3 separate regions of the Homo sapiens genome follow, and regions 2 and 3 are each linked to region 1. Evidence: promoter capture Hi-C in human tissues and cell types (Jung and others, 2019). All regions are on one chromosome and are shown on one strand. The core of a region is centred on a gene start or on the middle of the fragment in contact, and the rest is flanking DNA. Distances in the headings are between cores, read along the strand shown.

Region 1 (4,169 bases), core at 1,569-4,068:
TTCCTATAAGACATTGCACATGTAAGCATACATTTCAATCATATATACAAACATTTCTAATGTAATAATTTATTGCAGTAGATTTTTACACTTAAATTTGAATAGTATAAAATCACTTAACTCACTAATATAAAACACATTTTCACAATCCTTCTCCCTTTTTATGTGTCAAAATAATTTTCACGATTAAATTTAACTTTATTCACAATATTTAGTGAATAACAGATTTCATGTTTTGTGGCCTATATATACATATGTTCTTTATGTTCCAGTGTATAGTATTTTTGTCTCAAACCTATAAGTCAGTAGGTGAAAAGCTCAGGGACGATAATTTTGTAGTTTATCATCACAAAACAGTATATTTAATATTCCAGTCTATGTAATTACACATGCTAGTGTTTTCCCATTGCTCCAGCCAGAGTCTGTGAATGACAAGAGTGTCTTTACAGAGCCTGTAAAGGAATATGGTTCTGGAGAAATCAGTCCAATTATTTTAACAATGCAAGGGCATAACCGATACAAAATAAGCTTGTCAATACGACATCTTCAGAAAAACAAAAACCCACATAGATGCCACTGCTGTTCACAGTTTTGTTATCACGACTGTAATTTTTAAGTCACTATTCTTTTATTAAAATGAACAAAACAAGCCTAACTTTTACATAAATCTGATGGCCTGAAACAGTTTTAATTCACGTTCATAATTACAATCAAAGCTTTTGTGTGTGTGTGTGTGTGTGTGTGTGTGTGTGTGTGAATGAACTGAACATAAATCGTAGGAAGACTTAAAGAGTTAACCGTTTGTAGATGTTCCTACTTGCACATACCACAGGGCTAGGTCAAATCCAAACTGCCAAAGAAAGAAGGCAAGCAAGTTCTCCCTGAAGGGCAGGCCACCATGTGAATAAAACCTCCAGACAGATCATGTTCTAAATGTGCCGCAGCATACCAAAAAGTGAGGAAAATACGGAAACAGAATCATGCTGTTTGACTTCTGCATCGTGTTAACTATTTTTTTTAAAAAACTGCTCTAACTACTAAAGAAGGAAATTATGCTTAGCATAAAAATATTCCAGCACTGAGTGATTGGTACGTTTTACTTCTCTCTTCCAGGGAAACTACTTACACTTATTGATTTTAAACACCTTCACCTCAGCAGCGCATGTAAGTGAGACACTGTAAGTTAACTGTACCTTAAAGAGATCAGTATATAGATGGTTCTGGCGACCAAGATTACAACAAAAGACAAACAACACAGAATTTTTAAAGAGCTGAATAGTCAGTCAAGGATGCATACTCTCAGTCTGGGCTAGCTCTTTTTTGGAAAGGTTGCCAAGAATGTCCTTATTCCCTCCAGAGTTATTTTTCACTCCACTACCTCTGACTAGGTGCATCGCCAGTGCAAGAAAATGCGAGAAGCCTCTGTTTCTGTTGCAAGCAACACCTGGACCTCCAAGGAAAATGAGCACTTTCTTGCTAGGAACAGTCTCAAACATTTTCAAGGGTGAGTCTCCCCTTCTCCAGGTTTAACCCTCTTCCTCCGTAGCTGGAGAGGCTCTCCTACTCGTGCCCGCCGCCTTCTTCCTCCCGGCGAGGATTCCAGGGCCACAACCAGGGCAGCTGCACGCCAGGCCGGCCTGGGTAGCCGGGATGACACCAGGGTTTGCCAACGCCAAACAGGGCGCAGACTCCCCGGCGCGCTCCGGACTCTCCACTCGCCTAAACCTGCTCTCAAGTGAAAAGGAGTGGGAGGAGGAGGATTGGGAGGGGGCGGGGGGCGGAGGGGATCTGTTAATTCGAGGTCCTGGGGGTGTGGGAGCGGGAGGCGGCTCCGCTGATCCCTCCTCCCTCCCCGAGTCCTGGGCTCCACCTCCTCCGCAGGCCCCCAGATATACACACACAGCCGCGGCTGGACATGCACACCCAGTGCCGGCTCCGGGCGCGCACACATGCAGGTAGCCACACTCACCTGAGCCGGTGCAGAGGGCGGCCTGGGCTGGGAAGGGGCCCCCTGCGCCGCGGGAGTGGGGAGAGCGGGAGGTGCCACAGCGCGGACCTGCGAACTGAGGTGATGGCCCGTTTTCCTTAACTCTCCTGCAGCACCTCCGCCCCTGCGCCGGCTCGGCTCTGGCCACAGCAGCGAGGACAGAGGGGCCCCGGGCGCGGCGGACTCGCGGGCGCACGCTCCCAGGAGCGCGCCGAGAGGGGCGCCGCGGCGCAGGAAACTTGGGCGAAGTTAGTTGCAAGTGCCAGGCGGCTGCCGAGAAGAGCGAGGCGGGGACGCGGCCGGTGCCAGGCCTGCGGCGCCGCGTGGAGGCTGCGCTGCCCTCCGCGGCCGGCGAGCTCCGGGAGCCCTAAGTCGGCAGGCGCGCCTGAAGGGGCTCGGAGCGAACAGAGCCGGCATGGCCCAGGGGACGGCCGGACGCGGCTCCTCGGCGAGCCGGGAGAACTTCCTCTGAGGCCGGGCGACCAACGCTTGCTCAAGCCTCATCCACCCTCCTTCCTCGCCCCACCCGTCAGTCCAGCAGCGGGAGAGGAAGACTCGAGAGGCAGGTGCTGCGGGGGACAGCTCCCCCCTCCAAAAAAAAAAAATCACCCAGCCGATTGGGGGTTTCCCATCGGCGCACCCTGCCCGGAGCCAAGAAGACAGGCTGGTGCTGCTGTATTTGTATTTATATCCATTGCTGCGCTCTGCGTTCTCGTGGCACGCCTGGACACTCCTCCGCCTCCCCCTCCTCTTCCTCCTCCAGGGCCACCTCCCCGCCTTCCCCACCCCCATCTGCTTCTGTCAAATGAGAAAGTCACCGAGGAGAACCCAAACACTCCAGCCGCTGAGAGCCCCCTTTGGCACTTGGCAGCACGCGGCGGCGGGCTCCTCGGCTCAACTTCGAGGAGTCTCCGCGACGCAACTTTTGGGGACGCTTTGCATTTAAGAGAGAACGACCGAGGAGGAGGAGCGCTCTGCCCGGCCGCCGCTACCTGCGGGGAGCTCACCAGCAAACGCCACTGCAGACGAAGGACCCAAAGAACGTAAAGGGCAAACTGCCGCCGCGGGGAGGGGGCACCGCCGAGAAGTTAGAGTGTCCCAGAGACAACCTGCTCGAGCGCTCGGCCGGAGACACTAAGGCGGCCCGGGGCGCGGCGTGGCCCTGGGCTGGTCCCCCAGCCCCCTCCTCCGGGGCGGGAGCGACGCCGGGGCGCGACGAGCCCCGGCCGGCCGAGCGGGTCTCCGCGGGCAGCCAACATTGATTTCCTCCGGGCCGAGGGCGAGGGCCCGGGAGGCGGCGGGCTGCAGCCGCGGCAGGGCGAGAGCATGTCCAAGCCGGTGGACCACGTCAAGCGGCCCATGAACGCCTTCATGGTGTGGTCGCGGGCTCAGCGGCGCAAGATGGCCCAGGAGAACCCCAAGATGCACAACTCGGAGATCAGCAAGCGCTTGGGCGCCGAGTGGAAACTGCTCACAGAGTCGGAGAAGCGGCCGTTCATCGACGAGGCCAAGCGTCTACGCGCCATGCACATGAAGGAGCACCCCGACTACAAGTACCGGCCGCGGCGCAAGCCCAAGACGCTGCTCAAGAAGGACAAGTTCGCCTTCCCGGTGCCCTACGGCCTGGGCGGCGTGGCGGACGCCGAGCACCCTGCGCTCAAGGCGGGCGCCGGGCTGCACGCGGGGGCGGGCGGCGGCCTGGTGCCTGAGTCGCTGCTCGCCAATCCCGAGAAGGCGGCCGCGGCCGCCGCCGCTGCCGCCGCACGCGTCTTCTTCCCGCAGTCGGCCGCTGCCGCCGCCGCTGCCGCCGCCGCCGCCGCCGCGGGCAGCCCCTACTCGCTGCTCGACCTGGGCTCCAAAATGGCAGAGATCTCGTCGTCCTCGTCCGGCCTCCCGTACGCGTCGTCGCTGGGCTACCCGACCGCGGGCGCGGGCGCCTTCCACGGCGCGGCGGCGGCGGCTGCAGCGGCGGCCGCCGCCGCCGGGGGGCACACGCACTCGCACCCCAGCCCGGGCAACCCGGGCTACATGATCCCGTGCAACTGCAGCGCGTGGCCCAGCCCCGGGCTGCAGCCGCCGCTCGCCTACATCCTGCTGCCGGGCATGGGCAAGCCCCAGCTGGACCCCTACCCCGCGGCCTACGCTGCCGCGCTATGACCCCGCGGGGCCGCCTCGCGAGGAC
Region 2 (4,007 bases), core at 771-3,270, 100 kb before region 1:
TGTAGAGACTTTTTAAGAGGCCAAGTGTGATGAAATTAACTGAGCTGTCAACATGGAGAAAGGGTAAGCGTGAGCATAGTTCCTGCAGGAAGCAGAAAGGTGGCATGGAAGGACAGTTCTGTGTTGGCTTCAAGCAGTGAAGGACATTTTGGCCACTGTCCACAGTAGAAGGTAACAGAGGGGCCTTTAAATAGAGAGGGAGGAAAACACATTTTTTACTCTTACCACTCCTTCGCTCTTTCTTCTATGTGTTCCCTCTCTTCCCCTAATTCTTTTATTTATTTATTTATTTATTTATTTATTTATTTATTTAGGCAGAGTCTCACTCTGTTTTCTAGGCTGGAGAGTGGTGGAGCAATCTCGGCTCACCGCAACCTCCGCCTCGCAGGTTCAAGTGATTCTTCTGCCTCAGCCTCTCCAGTAGCTGGGATTACAGGAGCCTACCACCACGCCCGGCTCATTTTTTGTATTTTTAGTAGACACAGGGTTTCATTATGTTGGCCAGGCTTGTCTAACACTCCTGGCCTCAAGCAATCCTCCTGCCTCGGCCTCCCAAAGTACTGGGATTACAGGCGTGGCCACCGCACCTGGCCCCTCCTCCTAATTCTTATTCATCCTTCAAGTCTTTTTTTTTTTTTTTTTTTTTTTTTTTTTTTTTGAGACGGAATCTCTGTCTGTCCCCAGGCTGGAGTGCAGTCGCGCGATCTCGGCTCACTACAAGCTCCGCCTCCCGTGTTCATGCCATTCTCCTGCCTTAGCCTCCTGAGTAGCTGGGACTACAGGCGCCAGACACCACGCCCGGCTAATTTTTTGTATTTTTAGTAGAGACAGGGTTTCACCATGTTAGCCAGGATGGTCTTGATCTCCTGAGCTCGTGACCCGCCCGCCTCGGACTCCCAAAGTGCTGGGATTACAGGCGTGAGCCACCGCTCCCAGCCTCAGGTCTTAAGAAATATTCTCCTCATTCTTTGTTATACATTCCCAAGCCCCATTACAATCCATTTTTTTGGTAACAATTTCCGAAGTTTATTGTACTGTAAACTTCGTGAAGGTAAGGATCATTTTTATTTTATTTACCACTAATTCCTTATGCCTAGCACAGAATCTGACACACTGAAATCAATAAATGGCTAATTAAATCATGAATGAACAAATCTCGAATGCCTACATGAAACGTGATATGCAACTGGCCGTTTATATTTGTATTCATTCTTAACTCCAGTGTTTATAATAGGAGAATGCAAACCAAAGCTAAGTTTTTGCCAACAAGTTTATTATGTAACATCTGACATGATTTTAGATTCTCTAATAAAATCTTCCATGCACCAGGCACCAAAAACTTCCAAAGTGAATTACCAGACTGTCTTAAGTTTGTCAAAAATTTCATGAATGTAGCGGAAAGTTGCACTGTCACCTCTAGAGTGTCAAAAAGATACTTTTTCACAGGTGTTTTTCAAAAGTTTTAAGTTGCAATTTTTTAATGATATGCATGTGCTAGGCATAAAGTGAGATTTCCCTAAAGTATTAATAGTGTGGACCAACAGTTGCTACCTCCCTTGACTCTGATACAAAGTACTTTAAGTTGGAAGAGTATGCTAAAATACATTTTTAAAACATTTTAGAGATGTACTAATTTTTTTTAAAAGTAGATTTATAGTAAAACTTGGAAGCCTGGATTTAGTTTCATATAATTTAATGGCAAATAATTTTAATTAAAACATGCTTTCAAATATAAGGTGTGTTGGGATTAAATAATGGCAATGTAACGGAATCAAGAAAATTAGACTCTTTGCTTGAACACCTAAGCTCTCAACCCAGCTATGTCTCTAACTAGCTATGTAATTACTAATGAGTTATTTACATTCCCTGTGTCTCAGCTTCTTGATACATAAAGTAAAGAGGTTGAATAATTACACATGTAATTATCAACACCTGGTTGCAAAAATGCAAAATAAAGTATGCTACAAAATTCCATTACGTATCTGGGGTCAGCCCAATACCTTTGGAAGTATCTATTCCAACTTTGCTTAAGTTGGAAGTAGCGGCCTTCCATTCCAACTTGTTTTTCCCCCTCAGCAGGACCAAGGTCCATTTTCATTCTTATTCTATGGCCCTCACTTCTGAAGACAGAAACTCAAGAGGTTTGCATTGGTAGACAGAACCCTCGTGGACATTTATCCCCCATGCTGGCATCTGGAGATGGACCATAGCCGGGAAGGCAGGGATATTATCTAGGCTGCTCCATACAGGAGCCTGGACACCAAAAGTTCTTAAAAAGGGCAATTTTCCACAATAGCCACTCTGTCCTGGGAACAGCGACAGGTCTGGCTTTCATTCCCTGAATGCAGCTATGTGGAGTTTAAATTTTGGAGTGTTGATGTTTTCCCCTAAGGAGCTGTTGGAGTACAGAATCCCCATTCTATTGCCACAGACAAAAGGGAGAGCACTGAGGACATTGTTTCAAGTTTCTGTGCCTTTGCTATGAAGAATTTCTGGACTAAAGGGCTCTTCGCTGGCAGTCAATTTGCTTTTGTCCCTTAAAGGAAAGAAATATTCAAGGGGAACTCCCTTAAAGTACTTTCACAATTTTTATTTACATAGAGACATGAGTGTCACTTGTCTTTTTAATGGTTGGTTTGGCCTTTAACATCTGGTGGGGAACTCTGGGGTGAGAGTTAGGAGGAGCTAGAGCAAGATTCGGTTTTGAAAGCTGGTGCACGGTAATTATACACAAGTGCCTCTACTGCCTCACATTCATATTTATTTAGATGGGATGGTCACAGAAAATTCATGTTTAATTTTAGTTATTTCATCAGTTTATTTATTGAAATTGACTGCACATTAGCACGGCCCATGGTGTTGGGGTTTAGTAATTAATAAAGAGCTGCCCTGAAAGAGCTGATACTTTATCCAAGGAAAATGACAAATAAATAGAAATTATAATACAACGTAATAAGTTCACGATGTTTATGTGTGTGAAATATATATATTTTATATTTCTCCTGACAATCATAAAGAAGTTTTGAATAAATGGAAAGACACAGCCTCTTCTTGTACAGACAGATTCAGCATTACACAGATCTCCATCTTCCCTTAAATAATCTATAAACTTATAACAATCCCACTTAAAAGGCCAGTGGGATATTTTTAACTCAGCAAGCTATTTCCAAGTATCATATAGAAAAGCAAATGTTTTAAAAATACTCAAAACTCCTAAAAAAAAGAGTAAGGAGGAGAGACCAGCCCTCCAAGACATTAAAATATATTATCAAGCTACTATAATTAGTGGGATTAGACAAATCAATGGACAAGAACAAAGTCCAGAAAGAGACAAAAACATGTGGAGAAATCGCATATGACAAAGGTGGGATTTCCAAGCAGTGGGGAAAAGATGGTTAACTTTATATCATCCACAGGTTTGGCAGATGTGAGATTTCAGTACACAGCTGGAGTCTGGCCTTCCACCACCTGATTCTTTATACAGTCTTTCTTGCTACATTGGTAGATGCTTCTAGATTAATAAGTTTTTGTGAACTCTAACAATTTGGATGAAAAAAGATCCATGCTGGCAAAGACTTTAGTTTGTGTCATATTAAGTTAGTCTTCGTCTACAGAGTGGATTTCCAAATTAAAAGGGACCACTGCATTTCTTCTTATTCAGTTTGTAGTTTGTAGTTTGTAAATGATCATAAATGTCTAGAGTGTGAAAGGATTGTTTTCAGTTATGTTTTTTATATATAATGCATAAAACAGAAAGCTAAATTTAGGTCTTTTCAATTTGGTTTCAAAAAGTAATGGAGGCTTATGAAAGAAACATGTTATCCATCTGAACATATCCATATATGCACACTCACTTCCAATATATGCCAGAAACTGTGGAAAATGCTGGGATAGGAATTAAAGTCAAGGGCACAGAGGATGATGTAATAAAATGTCAAAGACGGTGTTAGAGAAGGTAGGGGGCTTCCCTCTGGCCAATGGTGGAGTGTGTTAAGTCCATTTTGTGT
Region 3 (4,141 bases), core at 747-3,246, 120 kb before region 1:
TGGATCCTTATATTTCTTAAGCTACTGAATAATTGTTAGGTATCTTGTTACAGCATCATTTTTTATTATTCTATTGAGACATGGTCTCGCTGGAGTGCAGTGGTACAAACACAGCTCACTGCAGCCTAGACATCTTCAGCGCAAATGATCCTCCTGCCTCAGCCTCCCATGTAGCTGAAACCACAGTACAGCATCTAAACCTACCTTTGTCATATACGATCCTAATTAAGAAGCTTGTGTGGATGGCTTCTAGATATGGGTAGTCCTGTTTTCTTTCCAGGCCTTCTCTTAAAAGGCAGATGACTATAAGAAATGTGTGTGCCTATAGGGCATGTCGACTTTATGGTCTGTTGGCAGGGAGCTGGTAAAACATTTCTTTTTTATGCCAAAATAAAGAAGTCTTAGCTCTAAGTATCCATAGTCACTCTCTGTTCCCTAGATCTCTCCAACCAATTATTTCTTCACAGAGCAATGTCTGATTTTAATCTGAGACTAAAGATCCTGCCCATACTTGTAGTGGGTAGGGATGGGGGAAAAAGAGCCCATTTGGGTAAGTGTTCCAGAAACTACCCTTCAATGAACCACTTCCGTTTCTGCCTATGTGTCACTCACTCCTACTCTATGTTGCCACCCCTGTGCTTGGAGCCTCTCTCTGGCTCATCCCGCAAAAGAATGTTCCCATCCCCACTCCTCCTTCAGGAACCAGCACATCCTGCTCCAGGCATCATCCCTCAACATCATTCCTTCTCCTTCCCAATTGCCGGAAATCCATCGGCCTTTCTGCTCCATTGATGCTCCTTTTCCCCCTCCTCTCAAGCTCACTTACTCAATTTTGTTCTTCTTTGTTGTCATCCGAATGGCATTTTGGTGGACAGGAGAGTAAACGTCTGTGTTTAGTCCGCCATCTTGGATTAGTAGGCAATACTTTTTTTTTTTTTTTTTTTTTGAGATGGAGTCTCGCTCTGCAGCCCAGGCTGGCGTGCAGTGGCGCGATCTTGGCTCACTGCAACCTCTACCTCCTGAGTCACGGTTCAAGCAATTCTCCTGCCTCAGCCTCCTGAGTAGCTGGGATTACAGGCACATGCCACCATGCCCAGGTACTTTTTGTATTTTTAGTAGAGACGAGGTTTCACAGAACTCACTTTTTGAGATACAGAGACTTTATGAGGAGAAGGAATCAGAATTTCACTCTTCTCACTGAGGTCTTGGGAATTAGCTTTTAAGGAACAAGTTGTTCTGTAATTACACCCATTAGAAAGTGACAGTAAGCAACCACCAAAATGCCCCATGCCCCACTGGCCTGTGCGCACAACACGGTCATCTCAGCAGGAACATCCAAGTTCCCATGGCTCTCACCCCTGACCTGAACATGCAGGAAGTCCACTTCCTTGAGGATCACCTCTCTCCAAATATTTCTGCTAACTCGCGAGAGGTATTTTACATGTTTTCTTGAATCAGTATCTTCCTTTCTCTTGTCATACTGGGGCTCTGACCAAATGACAACATCCCTGGGCTACTAGAGTTGGAATTCGGCACCTCCTGACTTAGCCACTGCCTTCCTGGTGCCAGTCAGAGCCGGCATTTTCCTGCCTCCTCACCTGCCAGCCAGGCGGACCTTGTGGGGTTGGAAGGCAAACATTCCTTCTTTCTCTGTTATTCTCCGTTGGGAAAGGTCTCACAGCAAGGTTGCTTTTGCCCCAGCATACAAAGGAATGAAATCAGGAACAGCTCTGTTCTCTAACATGAGCTAACCATGGCACTTCTACTTGAGTGCGAGTGGCCATCTTGGTGCAGATTCCGTTTGAGATTCACCAAGTGACTGATGATGCTCTGACCCTGGCGAGGCTGGTGCTGCTGGGCAGGCTCTTAGGAAGGGAGAAGGCAGACCGTGCTCATTCAGCTCATCTCTGCTGATTGAAGAGGGAGGATGGGATGGCAGGGTGAGAATTTTATTGTGTAAAGCTTGGGCCCAACATCCTAAAAGATTCGTGAAGCAATTCTTCCTCTTCACATGAACCCCAGTTTGTTCGAGGCAGCAACAATGCCCAGGAAACTACGGCCCCTGTCAAAGATCCACTGCTCGGTCTGGCTGACTCTGCCCTTCTCCTTCCCTTTGAATAGAAACTTGTTTCTGTCACCTCTCCCTCCTCCAATCCGATCATGTCACTATGTCTGACCAATAACTCTGGGCAGAACTCGTGTCCCCTTCCCCAAAGGAGCCCCCTTCGTCCCATGTAAGTCAGTAAATGAAATAGATTCTGAGAGAAGATGGTGTCACTTTAGGTCACATGCAGGATCCAAGGCTTGAAAGGAGATTCTCTTTTTCCAGACCTGACTTATGTTTCCTCTTGCATATTGGCAATCTGTGTATTACCAATTTTCCCTGACTCTGTGGGATAATTGAATCAAAAAGCAACTCTTAAATATCAAGAGAGCCCACTAGTAGCCAGACAGAAAAGGCCTCATTATATGAAATGCTCCCATCTGGGCTTTGAGCAGGGCCATGTCTGGAATCTAAGCCCATGCATAAGTGAATGTCCATCTGAGGGTCACTGTTCTCCCTCTGTGGGTGTGAGGGAAGGTGCCAGGTGAACAACCCCCTCCGGGAAGTCAGGGTACCTGCACAACCAAGTGGCCACACAGCTGAGTGCCTTAAACAACCGAAATGTATTGTCTCACCATTCTGGAGGCCAGAAATCTAATATCGAAGTGTGGACCGGGTTGGTTTCTTCTAAGGGCTGCAAGGGAGAATCTGTTCCATGCCTCTCCCCTTGCTTTTGGTGGGTTATCTGGCAATTTTTGTTGTCCCATGGCTTGTAGAAGAATCATCTGATCTCCATCTTCATCTTCTCATGGTCTTCTTTCTTTCTCTCTCTCTCTGTGTGTGTGTGTGTGTGTGTGTGTGTGTGTGTGTGTGTCTATGTCCAAGTTCTCCCTTTACATAAAGGGGCCAGTCTGAACTCATGGTATACCTAATTAAATCTGCAACAACCTGATTTCCAGATGAAGTCAGATTCTGAGGTCCTGGGGGTTAGAACTTCAACATACAAATTTCGGGATGAGGGGAAACACAATTCAACCCATATTCTTTTCTTGGCTTGGACAAATTATTTTACCTCCCTATACCTTAATTTCTAATATGTACGACCTAGAGTTGTTGCAAGATAAGAGGGCAAGTACAGCGTTCAGCATAGTGAACATTCAGTAAATTTTAGCTATTAGGATGAACGTGCTTTGGTTTCATTTTCAGTACTTCTTTCAAAGAGTCCCACTTGGTATTGTTTGATTGCAGTTGTGGATGTTGCCCATTTCCCTGGGGAATCTTCTGTAGTGACTTTCTATGGTGACAAACTTGTAGTAGCAGGAAAATACACGTACTATTATGCTGTCTCCTAGTTCAGACTCACCAAATGATATTTGCATTCTATTCTCAGTAGAGCTTTGAATAGATAGCTGAGTGACAATAGTAAATCAAAAACTATTTGGTCTTTGGCTAAAGTCCATACATAGAGTAAGTAGATAGGGTTCCAGACCGTGCTTTCACTCAGGCTTTTGAGTTTTCTGGAACTTCCGAGTTGTGTGCTTCGCTTTGTTTCGTTGTGATTTCTTTTCTTTTTTCCTTTTTTGAAATCCATTCCATGTTCTCACATACAGGAAGTCTGTAATCCAGGCCTGTGCTCTGAATCTATGTGATTCTTTTTGCTGCCTTTGCTGAACAGTAAATACATACCCTGTCGATCTGTGAGTGACATCCTCACTCATTGTGAATTTTTCCCCACCTCTTTTTCAGAGGATAAATATATTTGAACACACATCCAGAGTCCTGATACCTAATGTAAAGCAAAGCATTCCAGTGTTTGTTATAAGCCTAATCCACAATGTCTTCCTTGCTGCCTGGGAGGAAGACAGCATAAATTGGCGTGGCTATTTGACAAATAGGTTTCCAATCCCGAAACACTCATCTGTAGGCTTTTAGAAATCAGTCGGGCATGGGGTTCTGTCTGCCTGTGTGTGCATTTGTCATCTGTGCTAGAGGAGCAAAGATGAGTCCGGCAGACATAATTTCTTTGACATTTGGAAAGAAGTGAATGGACCCTTTATAAAATAATCTAATGTCAAACTTTCTCAATCTGCATTTTGG

Evidence for each region. Contacts are between HindIII fragments. The study calls those that stand out against the background at their distance.
Region 2: a fragment that was not itself captured here is called in contact with the fragment with the promoter of SOX21 in region 1 in 2 of the 25 tissues and cell types used here (heart left ventricle and mesenchymal stem cells).
Region 3: a contact is called between a fragment that was not itself captured here and the fragment with the promoter of SOX21 in region 1, in 2 of the 25 tissues and cell types used here (H1 embryonic stem cells and mesenchymal stem cells).

Annotation. Positions count from the first base shown.
Region 1 is chr13:94,711,194-94,715,362 of GRCh38, reverse strand. SOX21 (SRY-box transcription factor 21) reads left to right here and starts at 2,818. Exons shown (of 1, transcript NM_007084.4): 1 at 2,818-4,169. The coding sequence starts at 3,314. The coding sequence ends at 4,144. SOX21-AS1 (SOX21 antisense RNA 1) reads right to left here and starts at 2,647. Exons shown (of 2, transcript NR_046514.1): 1 at 1,970-2,647; 2 at 1-1,725. LOC112268114 (a long non-coding RNA gene) reads left to right here and starts at 1,920. Exons shown (of 2, transcript NR_158368.1): 1 at 1,920-1,955; 2 at 2,101-2,643. RefSeq lists an enhancer at 1,593-2,094. The HindIII fragment of the contact is 11,141 bases long and covers 1-4,169 here.
Region 2 is chr13:94,812,740-94,816,746 of GRCh38, reverse strand. The region is part of intron 2 of LOC101927284 (a long non-coding RNA gene); the gene reads right to left. Among named protein-coding and RNA genes, the nearest start is that of SOX21-AS1, 100 kb to the right of the region's middle. The HindIII fragment of the contact is 8,611 bases long and covers 1-4,007 here.
Region 3 is chr13:94,831,805-94,835,945 of GRCh38, reverse strand. All of the region lies in intron 2 of LOC101927284 (a long non-coding RNA gene), which reads right to left. Among named protein-coding and RNA genes, the nearest start is that of SOX21-AS1, 120 kb to the right of the region's middle. The HindIII fragment of the contact is 4,155 bases long and covers 1-4,073 here.